2 separate regions of the Homo sapiens genome follow, and region 2 is linked to region 1. Evidence: promoter capture Hi-C in 16 types of primary human blood cells and fetal thymus (Javierre and others, 2016). All regions are on one chromosome and are shown on one strand. Each heading gives the region's core, a stretch centred on a gene start or on the middle of the fragment in contact. The rest is flanking DNA. Distances are from core to core; before and after follow the strand shown. Region 1 holds the start of RNASE1 (ribonuclease A family member 1, pancreatic). Region 2 overlaps ARHGEF40 (Rho guanine nucleotide exchange factor 40).

Region 1 (7,060 bases), core at 3,884-6,383:
ATAGGATGTATGATTCTTGATTCTAAGAGTAATAGCTTTTATTATGGACAGACATTGTCCTAAATATTTTTTATATGTGACCTCAACTAATCCTCAACAAATCTCTGAAGTTGATACCATGTTTATCATGATATTTTACATAGGGAACCTGATGTTAAAAAAGTTACGTTCCCTGCCTGCGGCCACACTACTCCCAAAAGGCACAGTGGAGTGTGAAACAGGTCTGTTTCACTCCAGAGCCAAGGCTCTGAAACACCATACCCCATGCCTCGGTGATAGTGGCTAACTTTCTGAGTGTCCACAGAACGCTGAACACTACGCTTTCTCTGAATGTCATCTTTACCACAGTACTTCTAATTAAGTGTTATGAATATTTCCATTTTACAGAAGTCCCACAGGCACTTGGAGTTGTTATCCTGTCTCAGGTTTTTAAAATCCAGGCTAGACCCATAAAAAATAAGCCAATCTTTGTAACTACTGCACTCCTTCCAACCTCCATTCATTCACTCCTTCTTTCACAAATGCTAGAAAAATGTTCCTTTGACTTAAGAATGTGTATGTCCAGACATTCCCTGGATTTTAAAAGGGCAGATTTTTTTTTTGGTAGAATAGTATATCCGTCTCTCTATGTTCATTAATAGTGCATTGGGAATTTCTGAATTGAACCATATTCCAAGAGTAACTGAGAACATGAACACTCATGAACCGAGAACATGAACTGAGAACATGAAAGCTCAGCTGATGGCAGGGGAGAAGTTGCAGAGGAAGCGTGAGGGCTGTTGCACACTAACTAGCTGGAGGTACACAACTGACCAAGCATGCACGAAGGCTGCCTCGCTTCACATCTTGCCAAGGGCTTTCATGCCCCTACTTTTTCTTTTCCCCTTACAGCAGCCTCAGAAGGGACGCAGGGCCAGTTCCCTAAGACCTGTTAACGGTTTCTAAAGTCCCTCCACTCCATCCAGCTGTCCCAGGAAGAAGTAGATGTTCATTTGTCCCCACAGACACTTCTATTCACCCCACAGCCACCCCATCCCCACCACCGTGGCATCTAATTTAGACCAGCCCGCCATAGGGATGTGTCAGGGCAGCTACGGATGCAATCCAAGAGAAGTGGAAGAATTGGTTAAAGGGTGTATTCATTTCCTAGGGCTGCCATAACAAAATGGGCGGCTCAAACGATAGAAATGCATTTATTTATTTATTTATTTTTTAAAATTTTGAGACAGGGTCTCATTGTTGCCCAGGCTGGAGCGCAGCCTCGACCCCCAAGGCTCAAGTGATCCTCCATCTCAGCCTCCCGAGTAGCTGGGACTATAGGTGTTTGCAACCTTGCCTGGCTAATTTTTTAATATTTTTTTGTAGAGACGGGGGTCTCACTATGTTGCCCAGGCTGCTCTTGAACTCCTGAGCTCAAGCAATCCTCCTGCCTCAGCCTCCCAAAGTGCTGGGGTTACAGGCGTGAGGCAGCATGCCCAGCCAGAAATTCATTTTCTCACTGGAGGCCAGAAGTTCAAGAACACGGTATGGCAGGTTTGGTTTCTCCTGCTTCCTCCTTCCTTGTTCTGCAGTGAGCAGGTCTATGCCAATGTACCCCCAAGGGCTGAGGGAGATGAGAGGCCAAAGAAAGGGCTTGACTGAAGTAGGAAACTAAGAAAATAACAAATAATAGCATACGTAATAATAATAAGAGAAATAACAATAGCTCATAGAATGAATTGCTGTATTAACCAAGGCTGAAAAGAATTTAAGTAGCCCCCCTGAAGTTAAAGTTAGAAGAGAATATTAACTGTCTGTCCCAAGAAACGTTAACCATATCTATCCTCCACATATTTTGTAGGCTCTGTAAACTCCTGTTTCTTTCTTCCCTGCACAGCTGCAAGGTCACAAGACAGATAAGCATAAGCTGCAAACCAAGTTCTCACAGAGATGTAAGACATGTTCCAAAAGTGTCACAGCGGCCTTTTGTTCTCACTTCTGTAAGCCTGCTTCACTTAGTTCCTGCCTCAAAATGCTTAAAAGGGACTCATTTTCTTTGTTCTTGGGCTCAGCCTTTTAGGACACAAGTCCGCTGGGCCAGTGTACACCTTAAAATAAACACCCTCCTGCACGCCATCTGGTCTCTCTGGTTCCTTAAATCCCACTTCATGACAAGTTCAGTTTCTCAGAAAGAAACATTTAATAGGGACTTACAAATAGAAGCCATGTCTCAGGCAGCCACAAGACAGTGGATCTCCGCACAGGCCCTGCAGAAAGTATTCTTTATATGGCAAGCTTCCCCACCCCCCACCCTGTGAGATGGAATCTTGCTCTGTCACTCAGGCTGGAATGCAGTGGCGCGATGTCGGCTCACTGCAACCTCTGCCTCCCAGGTTAAGTGTTGACAGATGCCAAAGGTAGTCTTTCAGTGGCTGTCAGGAAGGGTTGCCAAGAGTGGAGTGGACTCACAGGCTAAGAACACTGGGAGCCTGTGAGAGCCCACCAGCAAGCTCTGGGAGAGAGCTACCGCTCCACAGCACTTACTGAGGAGGGGAGCTTTCTTCCTGAGTTAGAGCAATGGCTTCCTGAGTTAGAACAATGGCTTGGAAGTCAGGAAACCTAGGGTGTAGTCCCGGCTGTGCCACTAACTAGCAACAAGCCATGTGCAAGTCACCGGAAAGGCAGGGGTCACATTTGGTCAGGGATGGCAAATGTGTGGCACACACACCCTTCCCCCTCTCGTGCCTTCGATAGAGGCTGTTGTTCAACCACACCACTGTCCAGAATTTTTTGCTACAGCATTTTGGGTAGGCACTTCCTTTTTTTTTTTTTTGAAACAGAGTTTCACTCTTATTGCCCAGGCTGGAGTGAAGTGGCACCATCTCAGCTCACTGCAACCTCCGCCTCCCAGGTTCAAGTGATTCTCCTGCCTCAGCCTCCCTAGTAGCTGGATTACAGGCACCTGCCACCACGCCCCACTACTTTTTGTATTTTTAGTAGAGAGGGGGTTTCACCATACTGGTCAGGCTGGTCTTGAACTCCTGACCTCAGGTGATCCACCTGCCTCAACCTCCCAAAGTGCTGGAATTATAGGTGTGAGCCACCACGCCCGACCGGCACTTCCAATTAGAGTTGGTACACAAACTGAAATCTACTTGCTATCCCTCAATTCCGTGCTCTCCAAAGTCACTTCTGGCTCTAAAATGTAAGGTTCTGGCTTTCCAACTAAGAGGTGCCCATTTTTCTGATTTAGTAATAGCTCACTCAAAAAAAAAAAAGGAAAATGGAAATTTAGGATCATAATTTCATTGAGTCCTCTTCCCCACCCTGAGGCTAAGCAGGATCTTCCTGAGGTCACACTTGCCTTCCTTCTGTGCCAGAGAATGATTGTATTTGAGCTTCACCCCTCTGTCAGTTCACCCTGCATGGCAGTGTCCCAGGCTGTAGCTCCCTTTTGTCTAAAACAGCCCACACTTAACAGTTTTATGTTTGGCATCAGGGAATCTACAAGGAAAGGAATTTTCTCAAGCCACTAAAATCCAAGTCAGAAGGGAAGGCATTTAATTACTCCATTCACCGTTCTCCAAAGTGAATCAGATTTACAGTTCTTACCCCTTGCTGGAAGGCAATGCCAGAAACAGTACCTAGACAGAACCGCTTCAGAAATCAGGTGTTTGCAACTGCGTTTTATTGAAAGAAAGAGTGGAGGGGTTAACATGGGGCCCACCTCACAACCCACTCTTCACCCCCAAAATCACGCAGGGATGGGACTCAGGAAAGGGAAGCATGTGTGTGTTGAATAGGAGCCCTAACTGTAGTTACTTCTTTCACAGCAGGGAAGGAAGAGGGAAGAGGCAGCTGTGGAGAGGATGAGGTTGAGGGAGGTGGGGTATCTCGCTGCTCTGACCTTAGGTAGAGTCCTCCACAGAAGCATCAAAGTGGACTGGCACATATGGGCTCCCTTCACAGGCCACAATGATGTGTCTCTCCTTCGGGCTGGTCCGGTATGCACAGTTGGGGTACCTGGAGCCGTTTGTCAGGCGGCAGTCTGTGATGTGCATGCTGGAGTTGCTCTTGTAGCAGTTGCCCTGCCCGTTCTTGCAGGTGACCTTTTCCTGGAAACAGACATTCTGGACATCTACCAGGGGCTCGTGCACAAAGGTGTTCACTGGTTTGCACCGCCCCTGTGTCATATTCCGGCGCCTCATCATTTGGTTACAGTAGGTGGAGCTGCTGCTGGGGGAACTGTCTGAGTCCATATGCTGCCGCTGGAATTTCTTGGCCCGGGATTCCTTGCCCAGGGAAGGCTGGACCCAGCCCAGCACCAGCAGTATCAGGACAAGCAGAAGGAGCCGGACAAGAGACTTCTCCAGAGCCATGGTGGCCTCACTTTCCCAGAAAAGCCTAATTGAGAAAAGGAGAGAGAAGGAAAAGAGCCCTCTTAGAAAAAGAACTCCAGCTCCCACCTATGGCTTGCCTGGTTTACACTTTCTGTTTCAGGTCAGCCAGAAAGACGTCCATCCTACTTCCTGAGGTTTTTCGTGTAATGAGACACTCACGTGTACCCTTTTCCACGAGCGTTTTATTCCCACTCTCCAAAGCGAGGTCTTCCTCCCCTCTAGGTGGTGACCTACAAAGTGACCTAAAATCCTGTCAGTTCCTATCTTTGAATACTGGAGTTTCTTTGATCCAAAATACATTTGTACCCAGTGCTCAAATGGCTCATCGAAACATCAGTTTGAATAAATCATGAACCAAATTGTATCCCCGACATCCAGGGCCATGGGTGACAGAGCCTTGTTGTCTTGGAGCATAAGGGAACTCAGGCCAGTGCCTGACACTGGCATCATAAAAGATTCCATTGTATTCCAGAGAGAAACGCTGGCCTCCCCCAATTTGGAGGCTCCTTCTTCTCCAGTCCCATGGATGCTCTGCAGCCTGCACGTTCCACCCTGACCCCTCTGCCCCCAGCTGATGTTTGCCTGGGCCACATTTTTTCAGCGCTAGCATCACCCAATCTTTCTCAGTGCTGTGGACTGGCCCTAGCTCCCTCTTCTGCAACCCTGAAGCAGAAGCGGCACCTGAGAACACCTCTTGGGCTGCTTACCTGGATCTGCAGCTTGGTGTCTGAGAGAGATGGAAGGCCAGTTTCTGCAATCACTCAGCTCCCGGGGTGTGGACCTTATACAGATTACAAAGGGGTTTGGCTTCCAAGAGGAAAAGGGTGGGAGGAGCATCTGGAGCTCAGTTCAAATAAAATCAAGGACGTGAGGAAGGAGTGGTGAATCACCCAGGCCGCCGTCTTTCTAGGGCTGCTGAAGAAAGAGCAAATCTTTGCCTACGTTAGTCTTTCTTCCTATGTGAACCACATCTGTCTGCTGATGCACAAGGAGCAGCAGAGAAAGCCACTACAGCACTGGTGCCCAAACCTGGCACACTAGGAACAAAGTCCTTGTTACTTCTTCGTGGGCGTTTTCACCAAGTAGACTTGGAGGTTAACAAAGGACGCAAAGGAGAGGTTCTAATGGGAGATAGGGAATTCTGGCCAAAGCTATTCCAGGGCTCCTAGGGAGCAAAACCCAAGTCTCTTTCTAGGAGGGCATTCTCCCAACGCTACCTCTCCCGGGGATGGGAGGCGGGGTCGGGGGGAATGGAGGCTGTCCTGCTGCCCCCAGCTGGAAGGCTTCCCAGATCTGGAGAAGAAAGGGGGAGTAACTGAATAGGGAGGAGGAGGAGGCCTCTAGGGTGCGCTCACCCAGTTCTGGCCACTTCCCACCCACCCTCCACCCCTGCTCTGGGGGCATCGAGAGGATGGGGCTGTTCTTATCTACAGTAACCACTGACCCTGTAGGTCGGAATTGAGTAGAGGAACTAAAGATAAACTTAAATCCCAAATCTCAAATTCTTTTTGGGGAAAAAATACAAAGAATATCATATTTATTAGCAGCAGAATGCCCTCCTAGAAAGAGACCTGTTTTTTTGCTGAGTAACAATTTGGATACCTCTAAGAATTATCAAAATATCCCTTCGTGCTGTGTATTCAGATTGTTTCAGCCTTTCTGTGTAAAAAGTGGCCATAGTGAAATTATCTGACCTACCTTGTGTGATTGTAGGTCGTAAGATCCTCATTCCAGAGAGGGTCCTGCCCCCCATACCCAGAAAAAAAGGACGAATGCTCAGAGAGGCCAAGAAGAATCTAGACAGGGAGGCCTTGCTGGGTTTCCCCACTCAGTCTATTTTCATTAGATCGCCCTGTTGTCCAGTCATATTTCTACACAGCTGTTCATACTTTGTTGATATCCAAGTGTAAGAATGCCCACTTTCCCCTGTTATCTTTGGGTCTTCTGAAGGCTCCCGTGTCGTGTAAAACTACGATCAAATCAATTTGTATGCGTTTTTTCCTATCAATCTGTCTTTTGTCAGTTGATTTTCAGCAAACCTTTGGAGGGTGAAAGGGGAATTTTTCCTTGGCCCCTACAGTTTCCTTACTCCCCCAGCCCCCACCTGTATTTTATTTTTCTGAGTCTTTAATAATACTTTTATTCTCTTGAATAGTCAAGTTAGAATGTGTTCATTCATTCATTAGACTGTGGGATACAGACATAAATAAGGCACAGGACTCACCTGAAGGGCGCCTGGTGGGATGGTTTGGTTAGTCAGGTGGACCCCACTAAGGCACTGGGCGTGGCTGCACAAAAGTGGCCTCCACCCAGCAAGATGATTTCAGAACCACAGTTCAGATGTGAACAGATCTTCTGTAACTATAATAAGGCTCTTCAACAGCCCCTGGCCCTAGGAATCCTGAAACTACAGGAAGCCATTTTGTCTATTTATGCATAGCAATCTAGACAAGCCCTTGGAGCTTTAATTGCACTTCAATGGGGAACCATCAGAAGCCCTTACTGCAGCCTTATCCTTGACCCAGTTGCAGAGGCATAGCCCCGCTTGTCTTAGGGCAGTAGATGCCATGGCAACATTTGTTGTTGCTTCTGCTGAACTTGTTCTAGACTCCCTGCTTGACCTCCTGGTTTCTCACGCAGCACAGGCATTACACCTGACTGAGAACTCACTGCACACTTCA
Region 2 (7,060 bases), core at 585-3,084, 270 kb after region 1:
TGCCCCCACCCGATTCTTTGTAATCCAATCCCACATGCTCTAAGATTGGGTGATTGCTTCAGAGCCACTGTGGGAGAAGGAAGAGGGATGCTAGAAAGACCCAAGACAGTCACAGACAGTCTTTCCATCCTCCTCTTTCCACCAAATGACCATCTCTAGCATATAAATGAGCATCTCTCTTTCACCAAATGATCATCTCTGGGACATAATTGTGGGTGATGGCACCTCCACCTAAGATGGGGAGCCCTGGATGGTGGGTCTTATGGGAAGGGATTTGCAGGATGGCTGTGTGGAAATCTCCCTCATCCCCTCGAGTTCTCAGCCATAAGCTCAGTCCCCTGATAGCCCAGAAGCCTGTCTTTTCTCTCCTGGGAAAGATCTATGCAATCACCCCAACTCACGAGCACCCGGAACAGCCCTGATCAGGGGCATTCACAACAAATTCTCCCTGGATCTCCAAAGCCAAGGTCTCAGAGCGGGAGTGTTGAGCGCCCTGCCAGGTTTGTGCACTCTGGCCCAGCCCCACTCCTGTTCTGGGCTCATCAGCCAGCATTTCCTGAGTGCTCACTTTTTGCCCACATTGTACAATCGGGGCTTTGGAGAACACAGCCAACCCCAGACCAGTGCAGCTCCCAAGGAGCCATGATTGGGTGATCTCTAGGGATCTGTAGCCTGGTCCTATCTCTACAGGAGCCTGAGCCAGTGGAGGACTGTGTGCAGAGCACTCTCGCCGCCCTGTATCCACCCTTTGAGGCAACAGCCCCCACCCTGTTGGGCCAGGTGTTCCAGGTGGTGGAGAGGACTTATCGGGAGGACGCACTGAGGTACACGCTGGACTTCCTGGTACCAGCCAAGCACCTGCTTGCCAAGGTCCAGCAGGAAGCCTGTGTGAGTGGCCGTGCATCACTATTCTGCCTTCCCCAAGATCCACTGCCACACTCTACAGACTAGCCAGGCTGACTAATGCCCCCACTAACCTAGAGATACAGCCTCCCTTGAAACCGATCTCTCCAGAATCACTTAAGCTTCATTCTCTGACCTCTCACAAACTTTGACCTTCACAGGCACTGACCATTCAGATGCTAACACACACACACACACACACATTCATCTTCCCCAAATTCATCTTGACCCCAATACTGACCCCCAAAGACCCTAACTCTCCAGACCCAATTCCAGACATCTTCTCCCCCTCATATGAATTTCTCAAGACACTAACTCCCCCGTACATTAGTCAACAGAGATCATTCATTTCTACAGATATAAAGACTCCTAAGAGTCTTTAGCTTCTCCAAGACAATGGCATCTGCTGACCATGTCTTGGTAACGATTCAGTTCTTACCCTCCCACACATGGAACTAGCTTCCTGAAGAATCTTCCTACTACTGGGAGACCGATCAGTCCCAATCCCTTCCTCTCTGCCACCTGAATACCCCAAATCTCCCCTCCTGCTCTCCTGAGAGTATAACCTTCCAGGCATAAGGCTGGTCCTGCCTAGGGTGGGCCCATTCTAACTGCCCTCTCCTGCTGGTTTCTTCAGCAGAGGCCTGAGTGCAGCCTCCCACCTCTCTCCCCAGGCCCAATACAGTGGATTCCTCTTCTTCCATGAGGGGTGGCCGCTCTGCCTGCATGAACAGGTGGTGGTGCAGCTAGCAGCCCTACCCTGGCAACTGCTGCGCCCAGGAGACTTCTATCTGCAGGTGGTGCCCTCAGCTGCCCAAGCACCCCGACTAGCACTCAAGTGTCTGGCCCCTGGGGGTGGGCGGGTGCAGGAGGTTCCTGTGCCCAATGAGGCTTGTGCCTACCTATTCACACCTGAGTGGCTACAAGGCATCAACAAGGACCGGCCAACAGGTCGCCTCAGTACCTGCCTACTGTCTGCGCCCTCTGGGATTCAGCGGCTGCCCTGGGCTGAGCTCATCTGTCCACGATTTGTGCACAAAGAGGGCCTCATGGTTGGACATCAGCCAAGTACACTGCCCCCAGAACTGCCCTCTGGACCTCCAGGGCTTCCCAGCCCTCCACTTCCTGAGGAGGCGCTGGGTACCCGGAGTCCTGGGGATGGGCACAATGCCCCTGTGGAAGGACCTGAGGGCGAGTATGTGGAGCTGTTAGAGGTGACGCTGCCCGTGAGGGGGAGCCCAACAGATGCTGAAGGCTCCCCAGGCCTCTCCAGAGTCCGGACGGTACCCACCCGCAAGGGCGCTGGAGGGAAGGGCCGCCACCGGAGACACCGGGCGTGGATGCACCAGAAGGGCCTGGGGCCTCGGGGCCAGGATGGAGCACGCCCACCCGGCGAGGGGAGCAGCACCGGAGCCTCCCCTGAGTCTCCCCCAGGAGCTGAGGCTGTCCCAGAGGCAGCAGTCTTGGAGGTGTCTGAGCCCCCAGCAGAGGCTGTGGGAGAAGCCTCCGGATCTTGCCCCCTGAGGCCAGGGGAGCTTAGAGGAGGAGGAGGAGGAGGCCAGGGGGCTGAAGGACCACCTGGTACCCCTCGGAGAACAGGCAAAGGAAACAGAAGAAAGAAGCGAGCTGCAGGTCGAGGGGCTCTTAGCCGAGGAGGGGACAGTGCCCCACTGAGCCCTGGGGACAAGGAAGATGCCAGCCACCAAGAAGCCCTTGGCAATCTGCCCTCACCAAGTGAGCACAAGCTTCCAGAATGCCACCTGGTTAAGGAGGAATATGAAGGCTCAGGGAAGCCAGAATCTGAGCCAAAAGAGCTCAAAACAGCAGGCGAGAAAGAGCCTCAGCTCTCTGAAGCCTGTGGGCCTACAGAAGAGGGGGCCGGAGAGAGAGAGCTGGAGGGGCCAGGCCTGCTGTGTATGGCAGGTGAGATGACACGGAGTGAGGCTCATGGGGCAAGGGCCAAAGCAGGTCGGGCCTATGGGAGGGGGCAGGAGGAGGAGCAGGGTTAGGCTGGGAGCAGAACAACCAGAACCATCTTAACTTCAGTCCCATGTTTCTGTCTGTGTCTGTGCAGGACACACAGGCCCAGAAGGCCCCCTGTCTGACACTCCAACACCTCCGCTGGAGACTGTGCAGGAAGGAAAAGGGGACAACATTCCAGAAGAGGCCCTTGCAGTCTCCGTCTCTGATCACCCTGATGTAGCTTGGGACTTGATGGCATCTGGATTCCTCATCCTGACGGGTCAGTGGGCATCAGTGGGTGAAGGGAAACAGGACTGGGAAAGAGAAGCAATTGGGTGGGCTTGGGGACTGGGGGAGGCAGGGTGGAAAGGAGGTAGGCATGGACTGCTCCCAGCCAGGACAGCCTGGCCATTTTGTGTCTTCAGGAGGGGTGGACCAGAGTGGGCGAGCTCTGCTGACCATTACCCCACCGTGCCCTCCTGAGGAGCCCCCACCCTCCCGAGACACGCTGAACACAACTCTTCATTACCTCCACTCACTGCTCAGGTAACCGAGGCCCAGTCCTGGCACCCTGGACACTAACCTCCTGATTCATGAGGACCCTCACCTCCTTCTTCTCAGGACACTGACCTTCTGACCTCTAAGGACACCTACTTCTTCAACCTTCAGACTTCAAGCCATTGACCTTTGGCCTTACTTACCCTGACCTCCAGCTTCATATCTTCACTGATCTTCAAAAGCAACACTGTTGACTTTCACTCTCTTCCAACCCTACCAAGATCATCAGGACATTGGTTCACTGATTCAACAAACATTTATTGAGCACTGAGTACCTATTAGGCACCATACTACAGGCTGATATTGAATGCACGCCATTTCAGAACAGAATTCTTAATTTTCCAGACCTTAATCCCTTGACCTAGTAGCCATATGAATATAGACCCCTGACTGCTAGGTGACTTCCTCTTGTACACACACCCCAGAATTTGGCCCTTTGCCCATTTCTTCCCAAATGTACCGGCAACTAATTTCTCCTCAGGACTATTAACTAAAAACAGACCCCGTATGTCTGCCTTGCCTTATCTGCTATCCCCCAAAACACACACACAGCAGCCTCCTTGGCTCTTCCTGCTCCCGCAGGCCTGATCTACAGACACTGGGGCTGTCCGTCCTGCTGGACCTTCGTCAGGCACCTCCACTGCCTCCAGCACTCATTCCTGCCTTGAGCCAACTTCAGGTAACCACCCCTCAAACAGGCAGTTCCCCTGGATCCTAACTCTTCACCAGTGGCCAGTCCAGGACACCCGATTGCCCAGTTTAGGGTTATTCTTTTCTGCCCTTAGGACTCAGGAGATCCTCCCCTTGTTCAGCGGCTGCTGATTCTCATTCATGATGACCTTCCAACTGAACTCTGTGGATTTCAGGTTTGAGCCCTTCATTCCCATCTAGTTTCCCATCAGTAGTGGGGAGAGGAGAAGAGGCTGGCTGGAGCCCCAGGCTGGTTTCTGAGTCCTTGGGTGCCCAGGAAGAAACCCCCTGCCTTACCCTCTACAGGGTGCTGAGGTGCTGTCAGAGAATGATCTGAAAAGAGTGGCCAAGCCAGAGGAGCTGCAGTGGGAGTTAGGAGGTCACAGGGACCCCTCTCCCAGTCACTGGGTAGAGATACACCAGGTAAGCTTCCCCTCTACCACCTAGCATGCTGGGAGCCAGGAATAACCCAGCTGAAGACATTCTAGGAGAGAGGCCATGTCCAGGACATACCATGAGGTTGCAAAAAAGTGGTTTCCATTCCATTCAATTCAACAAGTATTTATGGCTCCCAAATCATGAGGAAAACATGTGCACTGTGCCATGTTCTACTGGGGAGATAGGAGGAGTATGATAAATTATTATAATTATTATTTTTAGACAGTCTCACTCTGTCACCCAGGCTGGAGTGCAATGCTTCGATCACAGCTTACTGCAGCCTCGACCCTCTGGACTCAGGCGATCCTCCCATGTCAACCTCTTGAGTAGCTGTGGCTACAGGCATGTGCCACCACACCCACCTAGTTTTTGTATTTTTTTTTTTTTTTTTTTTGTAGAGACGGGGTTTTGCCATGTTGCCCAGGCTGGTCTCAAACTCCTGGACTCCAGTGATCCACCCGTCTCAGCCTCCCGAAGTGCTAAGATTACAGGCATGAGTGACTATGCCCAGCCAAATAAATTCTTAATATGACATTAAGTAGTGTATGATTTTTGGTGGGAGATAAATCATGAAACAAGTAGAGAAGAGTGCAAGATAGTGTCATTGGGTTTCTGGAAAGCACTGAGAGTCAAAAGGCTGGTTCTTGTTCCAAATTACTTTACCTCACTTGCAGAAATAGTGCCCTTTCTGTATCCGCTCCTTGCACCAACATCCAGGCCTCAGGATCCTCATCAGCGCAGTATAACAATCACAATATAATTGCTAAAGGTCCTTCCAGCACTTATCTCATGTAATTCTATGAATATAAGTGTTGTGAGTATTCAAGAAGAGAGAAATAAACATGATCTGAGCTGAGTATGAAAGAGGGGTCTGTAGATGGTCTCTAAGCTTCGCCTTTAGTGTCAAAGGGGAAATTGACATGAATAGGCAGAGAGAGGGGGTGTGACAGGGGGAAGCCCCACTGAAGACAGACAGGAAGGTCACAGTTACCAAGCTGTACAATGTGCCAGGCCCACGTTAGTTGCTAAACTGGCATCATCTCCTTAAAAATCACAGAAGCCTTTCTTATCCTGACTTTACAGTTGAGGAACTGAAGTTCAGGAAGGTTTCTGAACCTGCCCAACCTCATACAATTAGTTAGCAACAAAGTCAGGAACTGAATTCAGCATTGCCTCCATAAAAGTCTCTGGGGCTACCGCACCCCAACCCTAGGGCTTAAGTTCCTTCTTAAACTCTGATCCTCAACTCCATCCCTGCATGTGGGTTTCAGGAAGTGGTAAGGCTATGTCGCCTGTGCCAAGGTGTGCTGGGCTCGGTACGGCAGGCCATTGAGGAGCTGGAGGGAGCAGCAGAGCCAGAGGAAGAGGTATGAAATGAGATGGGACAGTGGGGGGATGGGATTGGGATGGGGCTGGGGTGGAGACTCTCTGGTGGAACCCCAACTGGCAACTCCTCCCTATCCCCAGGAGGCAGTGGGAATGCCCAAGCCACTGCAGAAGGTGCTGGCAGATCCCCGGCTGACGGCACTGCAGAGGGATGGGGGGGCCATCCTGATGAGGCTGCGCTCCACTCCCAGCAGCAAGTACGAAGTATGGGTGTGCGGAGGCAGGTGGAAGTGGGAGGTGGAGACACAGCTGAAGGCTGCCAACAAACCTTAGCTGCCAGACCATTCTTACTGTGCATGTATCTGGGCAAGATACTATGCTTTTACACTTACTGTCTCATAACCCTCACAACATCCTTATGTGCCATTTACTATTACAAATGAGGATTTGGAGGATCAGAAATGTTAACTGTCTTGGCCAACATCGGTCAGTAAAGAGTCAGGATTCAAACCAAAGCAGTCAGGGTTCAGCCCATGCTTTTGATCCATGCTGCTATGCAACCTCTCATGTTTGCATCCCTCAGAGGCACGGAAGGACAGAATTGAGGGGCTCAACAAGGGAAATGATTCATTCTTCTCTGCTCCTTCCCAAGGCTGGAGGGCCAAGGCCCAGCTACACTGTATCAGGAAGTGGACGAGGCCATTCACCAGCTTGTGCGCCTCTCCAACCTGCACGTGCAGCAGCAAGAGCAGCGGCAGTGCCTGCGGCGACTCCAGCAGGTGAGCCAGGATCCCCACGTCCCTCTTACTCAGCCTGGGAGTGTGGCCTCCAGCACCTTTCCCGTTGGTACTTATAGTTGATGGTGTTCTTCTAGCCTGGCTTGGTTGAACGCCCCTCCCTCCTCCTCACATTTGTTGGTCAGTGTGAGATTGAACAAGAGGGTGGGAGCATCATAGCACCAGTAAAGAAAAGCCAGATCTTCCCCTCCCCACTGTTTACACTTGATCGAAAATGCTGAGAGATTGTGAGAGATGCTCAGCTGCCCTAGGGGATTCTGAAGAGCTGATCAACTCTGGAGTGCCTACCACCTTAGCTGAAAAATAATAAAAGTCTATTGATACCAGCTCATTAGTTATACTGCCACACACACACCCTTAACTCCTTATGCGATGTCATCCCTCAG

The links. The method cuts DNA at HindIII sites, captures the fragments that hold promoters and counts their contacts. A CHiCAGO score of 5 or more calls a contact.
Region 2: a contact is called between a fragment that was not itself captured here and the fragment with the promoter of RNASE1 in region 1, in 1 of 17 cell types (monocytes). The highest score is 5.1, in monocytes.

What each region holds. Positions count from the first base shown.
Region 1 is chr14:20,797,711-20,804,770 of GRCh38, forward strand. It overlaps RNASE1 (ribonuclease A family member 1, pancreatic), which reads right to left and starts at 5,134. Exons shown (of 2, transcript NM_002933.5): 1 at 5,087-5,134; 2 at 3,518-4,383. The coding sequence starts at 4,358. The coding sequence ends at 3,888. The region is part of intron 3 of LOC105370397 (a long non-coding RNA gene); the gene reads left to right. It overlaps LOC107984671 (a long non-coding RNA gene), which reads right to left and starts at 2,819. Exons shown (of 3, transcript XR_001750624.2): 1 at 2,194-2,819. The HindIII fragment of the contact is 7,079 bases long and covers 2,273-7,060 here.
Region 2 is chr14:21,072,355-21,079,414 of GRCh38, forward strand. It overlaps ARHGEF40 (Rho guanine nucleotide exchange factor 40), which reads left to right. Exons shown (of 24, transcript NM_018071.5): 2 at 691-888; 3 at 1,578-2,826; 4 at 2,978-3,145; 5 at 3,291-3,411; 6 at 4,006-4,102; 7 at 4,209-4,289; 8 at 4,420-4,536; 9 at 5,823-5,918; 10 at 6,019-6,134; 11 at 6,530-6,656. Among named protein-coding and RNA genes, the nearest start is that of ARHGEF40, 5.6 kb to the left of the region's middle. The HindIII fragment of the contact is 1,623 bases long and covers 1,024-2,646 here.